Linked DNA regions of Homo sapiens: regions 1 and 3 are each linked to region 2. Evidence: promoter capture Hi-C in 16 types of primary human blood cells and fetal thymus (Javierre and others, 2016). All regions are on one chromosome and are shown on one strand. Each heading gives the region's core, a stretch centred on a gene start or on the middle of the fragment in contact. The rest is flanking DNA. Distances are from core to core; before and after follow the strand shown.

Region 1 (4,835 bases), core at 216-2,715, 260 kb before region 2:
CCCCACATGGAGCCCTGTAACAGCAGAGGGGCTGTGCTAACACGCCCGGCCCTGAAGCAGAGGTCTCAGCAGAGGCTCGGAGGGAGGTGGAGGGCACGCAAGGAAGACTAAAGGCAGCAGAGCCCTGGAGGTGCCGGAGCTGGGGAGGGAGCAGCCATCAGCCCTGCAGCCCCGGGGTGGGCCACAAGAGAGGGCGACCCCTCTCCTCCAGGGCAGAGAAGGAACACACACACGAGTTGGGCACATGCTCCTGATGAGGCCCACACGTGCTCTCTTGGGAAGGCACTGACTCTGTTGATCTAAAGATGCTGAATAAGGCAGAAGGGTCTGTGCAGCGAGCACTGCAAACTCTGGTTTGCACCGAGGACCACATGGTGCCAGGAAGGACCATCCTGGACAAGGAGTGTGATGTATGAGCACCTCGGGCCCACGTGACCTGTGTCGACACGGGTGTGTTACAGGGAGTCACGGCTTAGCGCGTGGGGCCTGGAGGCGACCCTGCCCCTGGGCACACCCAGAGGCGCCGCCGCCTTCACCAGCCCCTGCCCCTCACCGGCTGAACTCGTAGACAGGCTTGCTCTGTGTTCCGTGAGAGCTCTGAGCACAAGGGGCTCTCGCCACGCCTGACAACCCGGGGACTGTAACTTGGAGCAGCACTTCAGCAAGCCCGGGAGGACTACAGGAATTTCCTACCATGAAATGGAACCTGAAGTAGGTGAGAAGATGGGGAGGGGGTGGTCTGTGGAATAAAACAAACGTGAAATCAAGGAGATCGGCAGAGATCAAAGAAAGAGGGGCTCCGCCAGCTCTGCCACACACTCTGGATTCAACACCGTCCCAATCAAGACGCCAGCAGGCTTGGTGTAGGAATCCTACAGTTCACGCGGAAATGCCAAGGACCTAGAATGGCTGAAGCGATTTTTAAAAAGAACAAAGTTGGAGGAGCGACACCTCCTTAGTGGGAGACTTGATGAGGCTGCAGGAGCTGGGCAGGGAGCCCTGCCACACAGACTGCCCGCAGAAAGTGCGTCTGGAAACAGTCCCCACGTGTGCGCGGTCCCGGGGCGTGACGAGGGCACCAGGGCAACCGGTGGGGCAGGCACGTCCTGACGCCACCTCTGAGGCTCCCCCTACACCAAGCTCTGAGGCTCCCCCTACACCAAGCTCTGAGGCTCCCCCTACACCAAGCTCTGAGGGTCCCCCTACACCAAGCATGGAAAACACAGCAGGAACGATGAGAAGGGAACAAGCAGCCACCAAGAATCTGGGCAAGGAACGTGTTCCAGAATTAAGGCGTCAGCGAACAACTGCCCTAGTAACGTGAAAGAAAAAGAAGAAGGGACTCAGGCTACTGAAGGCGAAGCAGGAACTGACCTGCAGTTGGTGTGAGCTGGGCAAACCCCGTGACCACCTCAGATGCTCCTCCCTGCAATCGCGGTCGCAGTCTGTGGCCGCAGGTGTGGCCTCAACCGACTCTAATGTGTCTACAAAAAATGTGCAGACAGCCGGGGCCACTGCGGTAGGCCAGAGATGCACAGACGCGCAGTGTGACTCTGGTTTCCAGTGGCCTTTCTCCTACGCTGACTCGGAACAGCATCCACGCTGTAGGTGTCTCTGGACAACCTTCCACCTGTCGTTTCTCATCCCAGGTTCCGGGCTGCCGGAAAAGGCTTTGCTCTTGTCTCCAGAAGCACCTGCTGGTCTGTCTGGATGGGGCCTGCTGTGTCAACTGAGGCAACTCCAGTCTGAGCTGGCACATGGGGGCCTTCTGAGGCCAAGGGGCCCTGGGGAGAGGAGTGGGAAAGGACCCCAAGTCACAGGAGCCAGGTGCACTTTTAGGGCCCAGGGAATAGTGACACAGGCTTAATAACAGGGACCGACCCCACTGTTAGAGCTTTCAACGAAGAAAAACCGTGACCACATGTATAGCACTCTGTCCTCTCCAGTTCAAACACAAGGAGAAGGCTGGGCGCGGTGGCTCACACCTGTAGTCCCAGCATTTGGGGAGGCAGAGGCGAGAGAATCACTTGAACCTAGGAGTTTGAGACCAGCCTGAGCAGCACGGTAAGACCCCATCTCTACAAAAGAAAAAAAATATTAGCTGGACATGTTTGTACGTGCCTGTAGTCCTGGCTACTCAGGAGGCTGAGGCAGGAGAATCACTTGAGCCCACGAGTTCAAGGCTGCACTGAGCTGTGATCACGCCACTGCACTCCAGTCTGAGTGACAGACCCTTTCTCAAAAAACAAGACAAAAGCCGTAGAACCTGAAAACCAGGCAAGACAGGCCACTTACCTTGTGACACCTCCACTATTACCTGTCACAAGGAAAGGACGACCTAATGGGAATCTGTTTACAGAGCTGTACAAAGTCTTAGAGAAACAAGCAAATTACCCCTGCCCCACGGCACACCAAACCCTGCTGCATCCCACGTTGCCCCCATGGTTAGAACTTGCCTATCCACAAAATGCTGTCAAAGACAATGTATGCCGGCTTGCGTTTCTATTCCTCCATTTACTTACTATGTGGAGAGGGTCTCACCCTGTCTCCCAGGATGGAGTGCAGTGGGGCGATCACGGTTCACTGCAGCCTCAACCTCCCTGGCTCAAACGATCTCCCTGCCTTAGCCTCTTGGTGGCTGGGACTACAGGTGCTGCCGCCACAGCCACTTTTGTGATTTTTTGTAGACACAGAGATTCACCATGTTGTCCAGGCTGGTCTTGAACTCCTGGGCACAAGCAGTCTGCCCACCCTGGTCTTCCAAAGTGCTGGGATTGCAGGCGTGAGCCACGGCGCCCAGCTGTTCCTACTCCTTTAGGGAAAGAACTAAGTTCCTCTGCGAGTCCATCTACAGAGACGGGCTCCGCTGCTGCCTACTCCAATCTGCAGACACTCACAAGGGGACGTTCCCCACCCTGAGGGTCCTCACTGATTCAGAGGGCGGCTTTTGGAAAGATGACTGCGGAGATGCATTCACATTTTTGGCCTTCCATGCACACTAATCCTCCCCACATAAATTCCAATATTTTCAAACTGAAGTGTCTGGAGCATTTTTTTTTTTTTTTTTTTTGAGACAGTCTCGCTCTGTCGCCCAGGCGGGAGTGCAGTGGCGCGATCTCAGCTCACTGCAAGCTCCACCTCCCGGGTTCATGCCATTCTCCTGCCTCAGCCTCCCGAATAGCTGGGACTACAGGCGCCCGCCACCATGTCCAGCTAATTTTTTGTATTTTTGGTGGAGACAGGGTTTCACCGTGTTAGCCAGGATGGTCTCAATCTCCTGACCTCGTGATCCGCCCGCCTCGGCCTCCCAAAGTGCTGGGATGACAGGTGTGAGCCGCCGTGCCCGGCCTGTCTAGAGCATTTCTTAGCGGCCAACTTTTACTCCACAGGCAACCTACGTCATAACACTTGACAACACCCCAGTTGTGGGCTGTGTGGGTACTACACGCAGCAAGCCCCTCCGAGACCTCCAGGAAGCATCAGAAGACCCTATACTGTGGACAGAGACGCCGGAGCAGCTCAGACACGAGAGCAGCTGCTCCACTGCCACCGCCACAGCGATGATGGGTGCGGCTCCCGCAGAACACAGGCCCCGACCCGAGGCCTCGCACCTCCTCGTCCGCGTGGCCTGATCCCGCTGCTCTGGGGCTGTCAATCCAGTGGCGGCAGCTGCTGCTCTGCCTGGAAAGGCTCCGCTTTGAGGCTGGGTGTGAAAGACGTCCAGGGACCCTCAGACGTCACTGCCGTTTTACATGCTCACAACGCAACACCCATCGTCACTGTGGGACCAGCTAGGGATACCCACATCATCAAATCCTCACCCCAAATCTGGCTGCCAGATCCCCACCGAGGCACGCGTGAGCACCTGGCGGCCACAAGGGACCCGCAGCCTCAGCCCGGCTCCCCTGTGTCCTGCTCTGTGCCGATGCACTGCTCCCTCTGCAAGGGTCCTTGTGAGGGACATGGGACCGTAATTCCTCTGTGGGGCCGGGAGCCAGAAGGCTCGGAAGGCCCACACTCTCCCAGGTATGTGGCCTGCAGGCGTGGGGCTATAGCCGTCCAGCCAGCTGATCCTGGCACAGGCACCCGCACAGCACGCGGTGAACAGGGCTGGGCTCCGCCAGGGGGGCGCGGGGCTTCATCTACCTTCCTCTGTGCCTATCGCTCTCCTTTCCTTCCTTCCTCTTTCCCTCCCTCCCTCCCTCCCTCCTTCCTTCCTTCCAGAAACTGCTGCGTACCCTTTCAGAATAAGAGCCTGTGCCCGGTACAGGGAGACCTTCACAGGGTCTGCTTTCAGAATAAGAGCCTCTGCCTGGCACAGGGAGACCTTCACTGGGTCTGCTTTCAGAATAAGAGCCTCTGCCTGGCACAGGGAGACCTTCACTGGGTCTGCTTTCAGAATAAGAGCCTGTGCCCGGTGCAGGGAGACCTTCACGGGGTCTGCTTTCAGAATAAGAGCCTGTGCCCGGCGCAGGGAGACCTTCACTGGGTCTTTCAGAATAAGAGCCTGTGCCCGGTACAGGAAGACCTTCACGGGGTCTGCTTTCAGAATAAGAGCCTCTGCCCGGTACAGGGAGACCTTCACTGGGTCTGCTTTCAGAATAAGAGCCTGTGCCCGGCGCAGGGAGACCTTCACAGGGTCTACTTTCAGAATAAGAGCCTGTGCCCGGCACAGGGAGACCTTCACGGGGTCTGCTTTCAGAATAAGAGCCTGTGCCTGGCACAGGGAGACCTTCACAGGGTCTCCCTCTGCCAGCGCGAACTGGGCATTTCACTCTCACTGCGAAGCGTGCGCCCTCACACCAGGCGCCACAGCTGAGATGCAGAGAACCCCA
Region 2 (4,762 bases), core at 843-3,342:
GCAGGAGAATGGTGTGAACCCAGGAGGCAGAGCTTGCAGTGAGCCGAGATTGCGCCACTGCACTCCAGCCTGGGCGACAGAGCGAGACTCCGTCTCAAAACAAAAAAAAGAAATGGAAAGATACTGCCCAGATGTGGTGGCTCACACCTGTAACCCCAGCACTTTGGGAGGCCAAGGCAGGCGGACCACCTGAGGTCAGGAGTTCGAGACCAGCTTGGCCAACATGATGAAATCCTATTTCTACTAAAACTACAAAAATTAGCTGGGCGTGGTGATACATGCCTGCAATCCCAACTACTCAGAAGGCTGAGGTGGGAGAATCAGTTGAACCTGGGAGGCAGAGGTTGCAGTGATCGAGACTGCAGCACTGCACTCCAGCCTGGGCAACAGAGACTCCGTCTCAAAAAAAAGAAAGAAATAAACGTGAGTGGATGGCTGTGCTGTTTGTATGGACCAGGAAAACTTCTAGAAGGATAGGTAAGGCAGTGTCCATAACTCAACCTGGGAATTGAAGCCAGGGTGGGGAGGAAAAGGCAACAGTTGGTTTCATTCTATTTTGTTTCTGTGCCTGTATTACTTCCAAAATAAACAAACTAGTTTCACTTTCACAACATGAAATGCTTTATCAGGATATGCGTTTTCCTCCAACCCCCAGTGGTGTCCCCTCACGGGACAAAAGCCTGCCAGCCTTCAGCTGCCCTCCAGAGCCTCACGGTGCAGGTGCTCCTGCCTAAGCAGCCGGACCCCCCTGCCCCCAGGAACTGCAGCCCCCTCTGAGTTGAGAGATCTAGTAGGCAGGAAAAAAGGAGAAGGAAGCTGTGGCTGCTGGGGGATGTGGCCTCGGGGACAAGCCCCTCTGTGCAGAGGACGTGGGCAGGTGGGATTTCAGCCCCCTCTCCAGCATCTCACTGGCAGCCAGGGTGGCTGGGGTTTCCCCGAGGGCGGGGGCTGGGGAATCTGACCTCTGTGCCCCGGCCATGGTGCCGTCTTGCTGGGAGGATGACAGGCTGTGTTTCACCTGCCAATTTGGCGACAGTTTCTCTTTTGGAACATCCCGGGGGACTTTGTTCTGTGCCACCCACCTCTGGACCCTGGGTCTGATGGCTGAGCTGCAGGCTCCAAGGTTCAGCGTCCAGTCTGGCCCTGCTCCGTCCATTCCCCACATTTGAGGGTTTCCCGGAGTTTGGTTCTGCTTCTTCCTCTCTTCCATGAAACTGGGGGCATTGCCCACGCCCCAGTGTCCCCCATCATCTGCCCGGTGGGGACTTGCCCACTCACGTGACTGCAGCCTGTGGGGCCTCCTCCTAGTGTCCCGAAGATACCTGGTCATCCTTGACCCCGCCCGCACCTGCCCGCGTGCCCCCTCGGGTTCTAGTGGAGGACGTGGCCCGCCTGCCACCCCGCCAGGCGCCGGGTCCTCCAGGCCTCCTCGAGCCACCTCCTGCCCACCTGGGATGTCTGTGGGTTCCCGGCCCGGATGCGTCTTGGAGCCTTCTACCCGCACCCCAATCTCCTGCCCCAACAGGCTGGGCCCCTCCTCCCGGGCTGGCCAGGCCAGCACCTCCGCAGGGGCCGCAGGACGCCTGAAGGCCCAGGCCGCAGGTGCAGGACCCTCTGCGGGGGAGCTGGGGGACATCACTCCTCTGCTCTGCGCGCTTTTATGAAAGGGCCTCTGACCCTCCGGGGGTCCAGCTCACTCTGCCCGCGCACTCCCAGGCATCTGGGGGCCGCCCCCCGCCCTCCCTCCCCGCGGCCCACTCGGCCCGCCCAGCTCGCCCCGTGCACAGACTCGAGGCCTCCAGGAGCGGAGCCAAACAGCCCCGCGGGGAACGCGCGCCGCACGCGAGCTGGACCCGCCCAGGCACGAACTCTCCTGGAAAAATGCTCCCGGCGGCTTTCCTGCTTCCTTTAGCGTGAACCGCGGGTGCGGTGCCTCCCGTGAAAATAATAAATTCACCGTCACGCTTGTTGTGAACGCGGGTGGTTCCCGAAACTTGGAGGCTTCCCGTAAACCCAGCTCCTTCCTCATCTGGGAGGTGGGTCCCGCGCGGGTCCGCCGCCTCCTCCCTGGCCCCTCCCTCTCGTGTCTTTCATTTTCCTGGGGCTCCGGGGCGCGGAGAAGCTGCATCCCAGAGGAGCGCGTCCAGGAGCGGACCCGGTGAGGCGCGGAGAGGGGCGGGCGGGGGAACCAGAGGGGCGGGCTCGGTGCTGGGGACTCGGTGCTGGGGACTCGGTGCTGGGGACTCGGTGCTGAGGGCCCGGTGCTGGGGACTCGGTGCTGGGGGCTCGGTGTTAGGGCCTCTTGGTGCACTGGGGTTGCCGGTCCGCGCAGGGATGGGGACTCTGGGGCTGCGGCGCCTCTGCCTCTGGGACCGTCACCCCCCGCTGGCCCTGAGCGTGCGTCGCAGGCCAGGCGGGCGGGGTCGCAGCGGGCGTACCCGAGTATGGGCGGGAACGAGCTGCCGGCCGGTGTGGGGACCCGCGTCCCTGCCCTGTGCGCCAGGCTCGACTCTTGAAGGGACAGAGGCGGCGTCTCGGACCCGGGGCTCCCCTAAGTCCGATGGGTCGGAGCCCCCTCCTCCCTTCCCGGTCCTCGGCCTCACCCGGGGTTCCCTGCGCCGTCGCTGCGACCAAGCTGGGAGCAAAACGCACTCGCTCATATGCGTGCACACAAGCTGGTGGACACACGCACATGAGCACACGCAGGCACGCGTGGACTGTTGCACACTCCACAGCCACAGCCTCGTGTGCACTCACAGCAAACTCATGAAACAGGAACCGTGAGGCTTCCCTCACCCGGCAGGCCCTCAGCTGCCCGTTCTCACGCGGGTTTTGCTGACTCCGCAGTAATCACCACATTCAGTTCCTTGCCCACTACTGGTGAATCACCTGCAGCTTGAGAAGCACGTTTTCTGCCGGTGGTCAGCAGAGGATCCCCGGCTTCTAGGAGGCCCAGGGCGACCGGCTGCAGGAGCCCGCGTAGGAGGCCTGTCTCCAGCAGGGCGGGGGTGGTGGCAGGGCCTCTCCACGGGGCTGCTGCTGAGCCCAGAGCGGGAGGACAGGAGGCCACCAGCAGAGGGGACAGGTGAACAGGTGCTGAGCAGGAAGGGTTAGCCCGGTCTAGCCCCAGGCCTGGGGGGCTTTGCTGCTCACCTGGGGTCCCCTCTGGGCCTGGCTCAGCAGAGACCAGGGCAGAGCCGTCCACACCGTGGGCCTGGGTGGGGTCCATGGCCTCTGCAGGCTGCAGCTGTCTTCTGAGAGGTGTTGGTGTGCTCATTCTCGGTAGAGACGTGGGGTCACCTGTGTTCCCTGAGCCCCTGCAGCAGCTGGGAAAGCAGTGTCAGCCACCCCTCAGGTGCTGTGGGGGTACAGAGTCCACTGACCACACAGGAGGACCCCAATGAACCCAGCCCGAGGGGGCCGGAGCTTCCACACACCCAGCACCCATGGGAGCCGGGACAGGCAGGCGCCCGGGGCACCAGGGAGCGGGAACAGGCATGCGCAGGCGTGCTGGGCGGTGCGTGAACTTTCCTAGGCGTGTCACTGGCATGGCTCCAAGCCTGCGCATCATCGCTTGTCAGGGAGCACTCAGACCCTGCCGTGTCTGGTGCCGGCGCCTCAGATACCGACCCCTGTGTTCGTGGTTTGAGAGAAATCTGATTGCCGCCTCCATCTTTTCCCGCTCTAGAAGTTTGTTTTTTGTTTTGTTTGGTTTGAGACGGAGTTTCGCTCTTGTTGCCCAGGCTGGAATGTAGTGGCCAGATCTTGGCTCACCACAACCTCCACCTCCCTGGTTCAAGCGATTCTCCTGCCTCAGCCTCCCAAGTAACTGGGATTACAGGCGTGCACCACCACGCCCGGCTAATTTTTTTGTATTTTTAGTAGAGACGGGGTTTCACCACGTTGTTCAGACTGGTCTCAAACTCCCGACCTCAGGTGATCCACCTGCCTCAGCCTCCCAAAGTGCTGGGATTGCAGGCATGCGCCACCGCGCCCGGCCCACTCTAGAAGTTTTGAGGCTCCGTGCGCCTCGTCTCCCTGTACCTGGTCTCCCTGTGCCAGGTCTCCCTGTGCCACACACGGAGCTGCCCGGCCAGTCACCGCCCACCTGGCCACTTTCCCTGGGGCCGCGCCCTGCCGCCTGCCCTCTCTCTGATTTTTAGCCACTGCGTGGCATTCAACTCAAGCCCACGCCTCTGGTCAGGAGGATGGCAGGAGAGGACTCAGGCAGACGGGCAGAGTGGCAGAGCTGCCAACAAAAACGCAGGATACCCAGTAACATCTGAGTTTGAGATCGTTAATCGTGTTTTAATATAAGTGTGTCCCGAGTGTCCCACGGGACAAGCTTTCACCAGGACATCATTGGTTGTTTATCTGAGACTCAGATGTGACCAGATGTGCCTGGTGACCTGAGAGGGGCCTGTGTTGCCAGGGTGCGTTTTCTTCTGATAAACGGAGCAAATTCCCACAGCAACCCAAAGTCGCTGACACCTGCTGCCCAGACAGAGCTGGGGCCACGCATGGTCCGCAGCCTGAAGCCTCGGGGTAGAGCCAGACCTGCCGCTCTCCTCCCGGTCTCCCCCCAGCTCCCTACCCCCTGAGCCCTTCAAAGTCATTCTCAAGCCAAAGACAGGGGTCTTCCAGGCCCAGGGCTCCCCTCCACGGCTGACTCATTCCACACCTTTCCCGCCACTTGCCGGGTGTGGACCGACAGGAAGGGCACCGCCACCTGCTCCTAGTACCCTCCAGCCCATCCCTTGCC
Region 3 (4,781 bases), core at 1,517-4,016, 440 kb before region 2:
TGGGGCAGGCGGATCACCTGAGGTCAGGAGTTTGAGACCAGCCTGGTCAATATGGTAAAACCCCGTCTCTACTAATGACACAAAAATTGGCCAGGCATGATGGCACATGCCTGTAATCCCAGCTACTCAGGAGGCTGAGGTGGGAGGATTGCTTGAGCCTCAAAGGCAGAGGCTGCAGTGAGTTGAGATTAGACCACTATACTCCAGAATGGGTGACAGGGCAAGACTCCATCTCAAAAAAAAAAAAACTCACTGCAGCACCAACCTCCCCAGCTCAGATGACCCTCCCACCTCAGCCTCCAGAATAGCTGGGACCAAAGGTGTGTACCACCACACCTGGCTAATTTTCTTTTATTTTTTGGTAGAGACTGAGTCACATTATATTGTCTAGGCTGCTCTCAAACTCCTGGGCTCAAGCTATCCTCCCACCCTGGCCTCCCAAAGTGCTGGAATTACAGGCATGAAACCTCCACGCCCAGCTAGATTTATTTTTCGGAGGGCTGCCTTAAAATGTTTCCAATGCTTGTCTCGGTTTTTTTTGTTTGTTTGTTTGTTTTTTCCCATAACGATACACTTAGAAGATCTTTTTTTCTGGGGCAGGCTTTTTTTTTTTTTTTTTTTTTTGAGACGGAGTCTTGCTCTGCTGCCCAGGCTAGAGTGCAGTGGTGCAATCTTGGCTCACTGCAACCTCTGCTTCCCGGGTTCAAGCAATTCTCTGCCTCAGCCTCCCAAGTAGCTGTTCATTTGTAAGAGAACAGTTGAATAAATATGAAAGGATCACAGGCACTAGCCACCATTCCCGGCTAATTTTTGTATTTTTAGTAGAGATGGGGTTTCACCATCTTGTCCAGGCTGGTCTTAAACTCCTGACCTCGTGATCCACCTGCCTCGGCCTCCCAAAGTGCTGGGATTACAGGTGTGAGCCACCGTGCCCGGCCTCCGGGGCAGGCTTTCTAACGGCAATCACAGAGTGCCAAGTCTTGACAAACCATGCTCCCTTGACCTGGCAGTCCCTCTCCACAGACAAGTAAACAAGGGTGGGTAAACCATACTACTTTTTTTTTTTTTTTTTGAGACGGAGTTTCACTCTTGTTGCCCAGGGTGGAGTGCAATGGCGTGATATCGGCTCACCACAACCTCCGCCTCCCAGGTTCAAGCGATTCTTCTGCCTCAGCCTCCTGAGTAGCTGGGACTACAGGCACGTGCCACCACGCCCAGCTAATGTTGTATTTTTAGTAGAGACAAGGTTTCTCCATGTTGGTCAGGCTGGTCTCGAATTCCTGACCTCAGGTGATATGCCCACCTTGGCCTCCCAGAGTGCTGGGATTACAGGCGTGAGCCACCGCACCCAGCCCATCACCACACTACCTCTAACGTAACAAAACAAGAACAAACAAAACATCCATCTATCAGAGAGAATTTTAAATTAGATTACAATGGAGTACCTTTTCCCTTAACGATTATGAGGGGGACACTTTCTGACATCGTAAGACACTAAGAACGTGTTGCTGAGGGTAAAAAGGACTCAGAACAGCAGGTCATGGGGCAATGCTGAGCCCTGATGAAGAGCACAGACTCCAGATAAACCGCCTGGATTCAAACATGGATCCACCATTTATGAGCAAAGTAAACTAAGTTATTAATTTTTATGCCTGTTGCCTTCTCGGTTAAACGAGGGTAAGAATTGTCAACAGCCTCATGAAGGAGAATTCAATGATTATTAATCACAGTTAATTAATCACTGATGATCTATCAATCATCAACGTATAGGTTAAATTTTTTTTTTTTTTTTTTTGAGATGGACTCTCGCTCTGTCACCCAGGCTGGAGTGCAGTGGCGTAATCTCAGTTCACTACAATCTCCACCTCCCAGGTTCAAGGGATTCTTCTGCCTCAGCCTCTTGAGTAGCTGGGATTACAGGTATGTGTCACCAGGCCCAGCTAATTTTTGTATTTTTAGTAGACACAGGGTTTCACCATGTTGGCCAGGCTGGTCTCGAAGTCCTAACCTCACGTGATCTGCCCGCCCCGGCCTCCCAAAGTGCTGGGATTACAGGAGTGACCCACCATGCCCAGCCCAATGTATAGGTTAAATTATTAATCCATAAGTGATTAAAGATTAATCTATGAGTGTTTGAACGGTGCCAGGCACACAGCAGGCACTCAGTGAATGCTGACCAGGGCTGTCGCAGTCAGCGTGGCAGGAAGACCGAGACAACTGAGATGGCTCAGAGCCTGACAGCCTCCTAGTGCTCGCTTGCGTAGGCTGGACTCGGTGACTTGCTGCTAACCACAGGATCTGGCAGAGGAATGGGACGTCACTTCCATGATCAGGTAACATATTATCATGACTTCCATCTCATTAGCAGAGTTTCTCCCTTGCAGGCTTTGATGGAATAAGTCACTAAGTTGGAGGGGCCCAGGTGGCAAAGAACTGAGGGTGGCCTCAATCCAACGGCCTTGGGGCAAAGCCTGCCCATGTCGAGTTTTAACTGCAGCTGTGGGCAAGCTTGACACAAAGGACCCAGCTCAGCCATGCCAGACTCCCGACCCACAGAAACTACAAGAGGATAAATGTGTGTCAAACACTCAAGTTTGGGGTAATTAGTTATGATCCAATAGATAACTAATACAATAAGCTGTGTTTATATGCATAATATTTACATCAGGAAAAGTTCGGAGAAAATAAACAACTTATCTCTTGGCACTAGAATTTCATAAATTTAAATTTAGTATTTTTCTTGCTTATCTTTATTTTCTAGTTCTCCTACAAATGAGCATCTATTATTTATATAACGTTAAGAACTAAATGTAAAATGGGTCCTTATTCTCTCTCACCATGCCACTAAACCCTTCCTTATCTGCCATGATTACCCTCAACAGAGTATTTGCATCATCTACAAAGAAATGAGATTTGCTAACTCAACCTGACCCCTACATGAATTATCACAATTTCAAAATAAGTTATCCTATGGGATTTTACCCCACTGAAAAAAACAGCAGTTGAATACATATCAGAAGCTTACCGAGTAAACCACTAACATCAAGACAGCATGAACATGAAAGTGAGTACTAATTAGCAGCTAATTATCTGCATGATATTTACCTCTGCTATTTGGAGAATACGGTCCATTATGGACATTCGTGCTTGCCCAGGCTGGGTGAGGAGGTTCCCGTCAAGGCGAGAAAAATCAAAAGGGATCAGGCAGGTCACGGAGAGCCAGAGCAAAAGCATGTAGCGGGTTTCCCAAGCCTAAAAAATTAAACCACGGGAAGAATGAGTCTTGCTTGAAAATCACAGGCCACTGGCCACAATCTACTCAAAGTCACTGCCCTCCATGCCCACCCAATGCCTATGAAAGCCATTCAAATGCCATCACCCTCAGGGCCAGAAATGCAAGCCGTTCACCAACTCCTCGCCACATCCCCCCCGGAATCCCCACCACACACACCTACCGCCGTAACTTAGCTCAGCAGACAAGAGAGACATCAAAATGAACAAAGAAAAATCATAATACATCAGTATAGCAGCTTCTCTTCGCTGGCACCTCTCCACATACAAACTGGCCTTTTGAAAAAGTGAAAAACAGATAAAAAGTAAAAACACCTAAGAATAAAGAAAAAAGGCCAGGTGTGGTGGTTCACACCTGTAATCCCAACACTTTGGGAGGCCGAGACGAGCGGATCACCTGAGGTCAGGAGTTCCTTTTTTTTTTTTTGAGATGGAGTCTCGCTCTGTTGCCCAGGCTGGAGTGCAGTGGCGCAACCTCGCTCACTGCAAGCTCCACCTTCCGGGTTCACGCCATTCTCCTGCCTCAGCCTTCTGAGTAGCTGGGACTACAGGCGTTTGCCACCATGCTAGGCTAATTTTTGTATTTTTTGTAGACACAGGGTTGCACCGTGTTAGCCAGGATGGTCTCGATCTCCTGACCTCGTGATCCGCCCACCTTGGCCTCCCAAACTGCTGGGATTACAGGCACGAGCCACCGTGCCTGGCCGAGGTCAAGAGTCCTAAACCAGCCTGACCAACATGGAGAAACCCTGTTTCTACTAAAAATACAAAATTACCCTGGCGTGATGACACATGCCTGTAATCCCAGCTACTCAGGAGGCTGACACAGGAGAATCGCTTGAACCTGGGAGACAGAGGTTGCAGTGAGCCAAGATTGTGCCATTGCTCTCCAACCTGGGCAAGAAGAGTGAAACTCTGTCTTTTTAAAAAAAAAAGAATAAAGAAAACAATTATCAACTTCTAATAAAAAAGGAGTACCCTTATTTTCAGTAATTAGTAAAAAACATCCCAATTTGTCCCTGCAATCATTCCACTGGGGGGCGCTAGAAGTACTAGGGAAAGAAGGGCACGGAGTGCAGGGCAGCAGGGAAATGCCCCACAGCGCTCATCAGTCACATCCACGCCGAGACAAGCCACCGCACTGCACGGTTATAAACCGTGTGCTCCTCCAAATACATACCACGCAGAAGACAGCGAGCATAGCAGGCCCCGCTGCCGTCTGAGGCAAGGCCCCTGACGAGGCCGGCCCTGGGCTGGTATCCAGGGACCTGGACACCAGCAGGGTTCCCACCAAGCCCTGCCTGATGAGGTCCCTCGCTGGCTCAATCTGCACAAACCGTGTGCTTTACGCTGGCACCTGCTTTCCTGCTGGGGGTCTGGAATTTCGTTTCGTGCCAGGCAGAGGTGTCCATGTGGCCAGACCCCAGTGAAAGCTCTGGGCACCAAGTCTCAAACGTGCTTCTCTGATAGACACCTCACAGGTGTGGTCA

What was found. Contacts are between HindIII fragments. The CHiCAGO score rates a contact against its expected background, and 5 or more counts as called.
Region 1: a contact is called between a fragment that was not itself captured here and the fragment with the promoter of SECTM1 in region 2, in 1 of 17 cell types (endothelial precursors). The highest score is 5.9, in endothelial precursors.
Region 3: a contact is called between a fragment that was not itself captured here and the fragment with the promoter of SECTM1 in region 2, in 1 of 17 cell types (endothelial precursors). The highest score is 5.8, in endothelial precursors.

The regions. Positions count from the first base shown.
Region 1 is chr17:82,592,731-82,597,565 of GRCh38, reverse strand. The region is part of intron 8 of FOXK2 (forkhead box K2); the gene reads right to left. Among named protein-coding and RNA genes, the nearest start is that of FOXK2-AS1, 6.7 kb to the right of the region's middle. RefSeq lists a silencer at 4,166-4,366. The HindIII fragment of the contact is 9,092 bases long and covers 1-4,835 here.
Region 2 is chr17:82,331,096-82,335,857 of GRCh38, reverse strand. SECTM1 (secreted and transmembrane 1) reads left to right here and starts at 2,092. Exons shown (of 5, transcript NM_003004.3): 1 at 2,092-2,158. RefSeq lists enhancers at 669-738, 2,786-3,588 and a silencer at 3,465-3,749. The HindIII fragment of the contact is 7,811 bases long and covers 1-4,347 here.
Region 3 is chr17:82,766,891-82,771,671 of GRCh38, reverse strand. It overlaps TBCD (tubulin folding cofactor D), which reads right to left. Exons shown (of 39, transcript NM_005993.5): 5 at 3,106-3,252. Among named protein-coding and RNA genes, the nearest start is that of TBCD, 17 kb to the right of the region's middle. The HindIII fragment of the contact is 512 bases long and covers 2,511-3,022 here.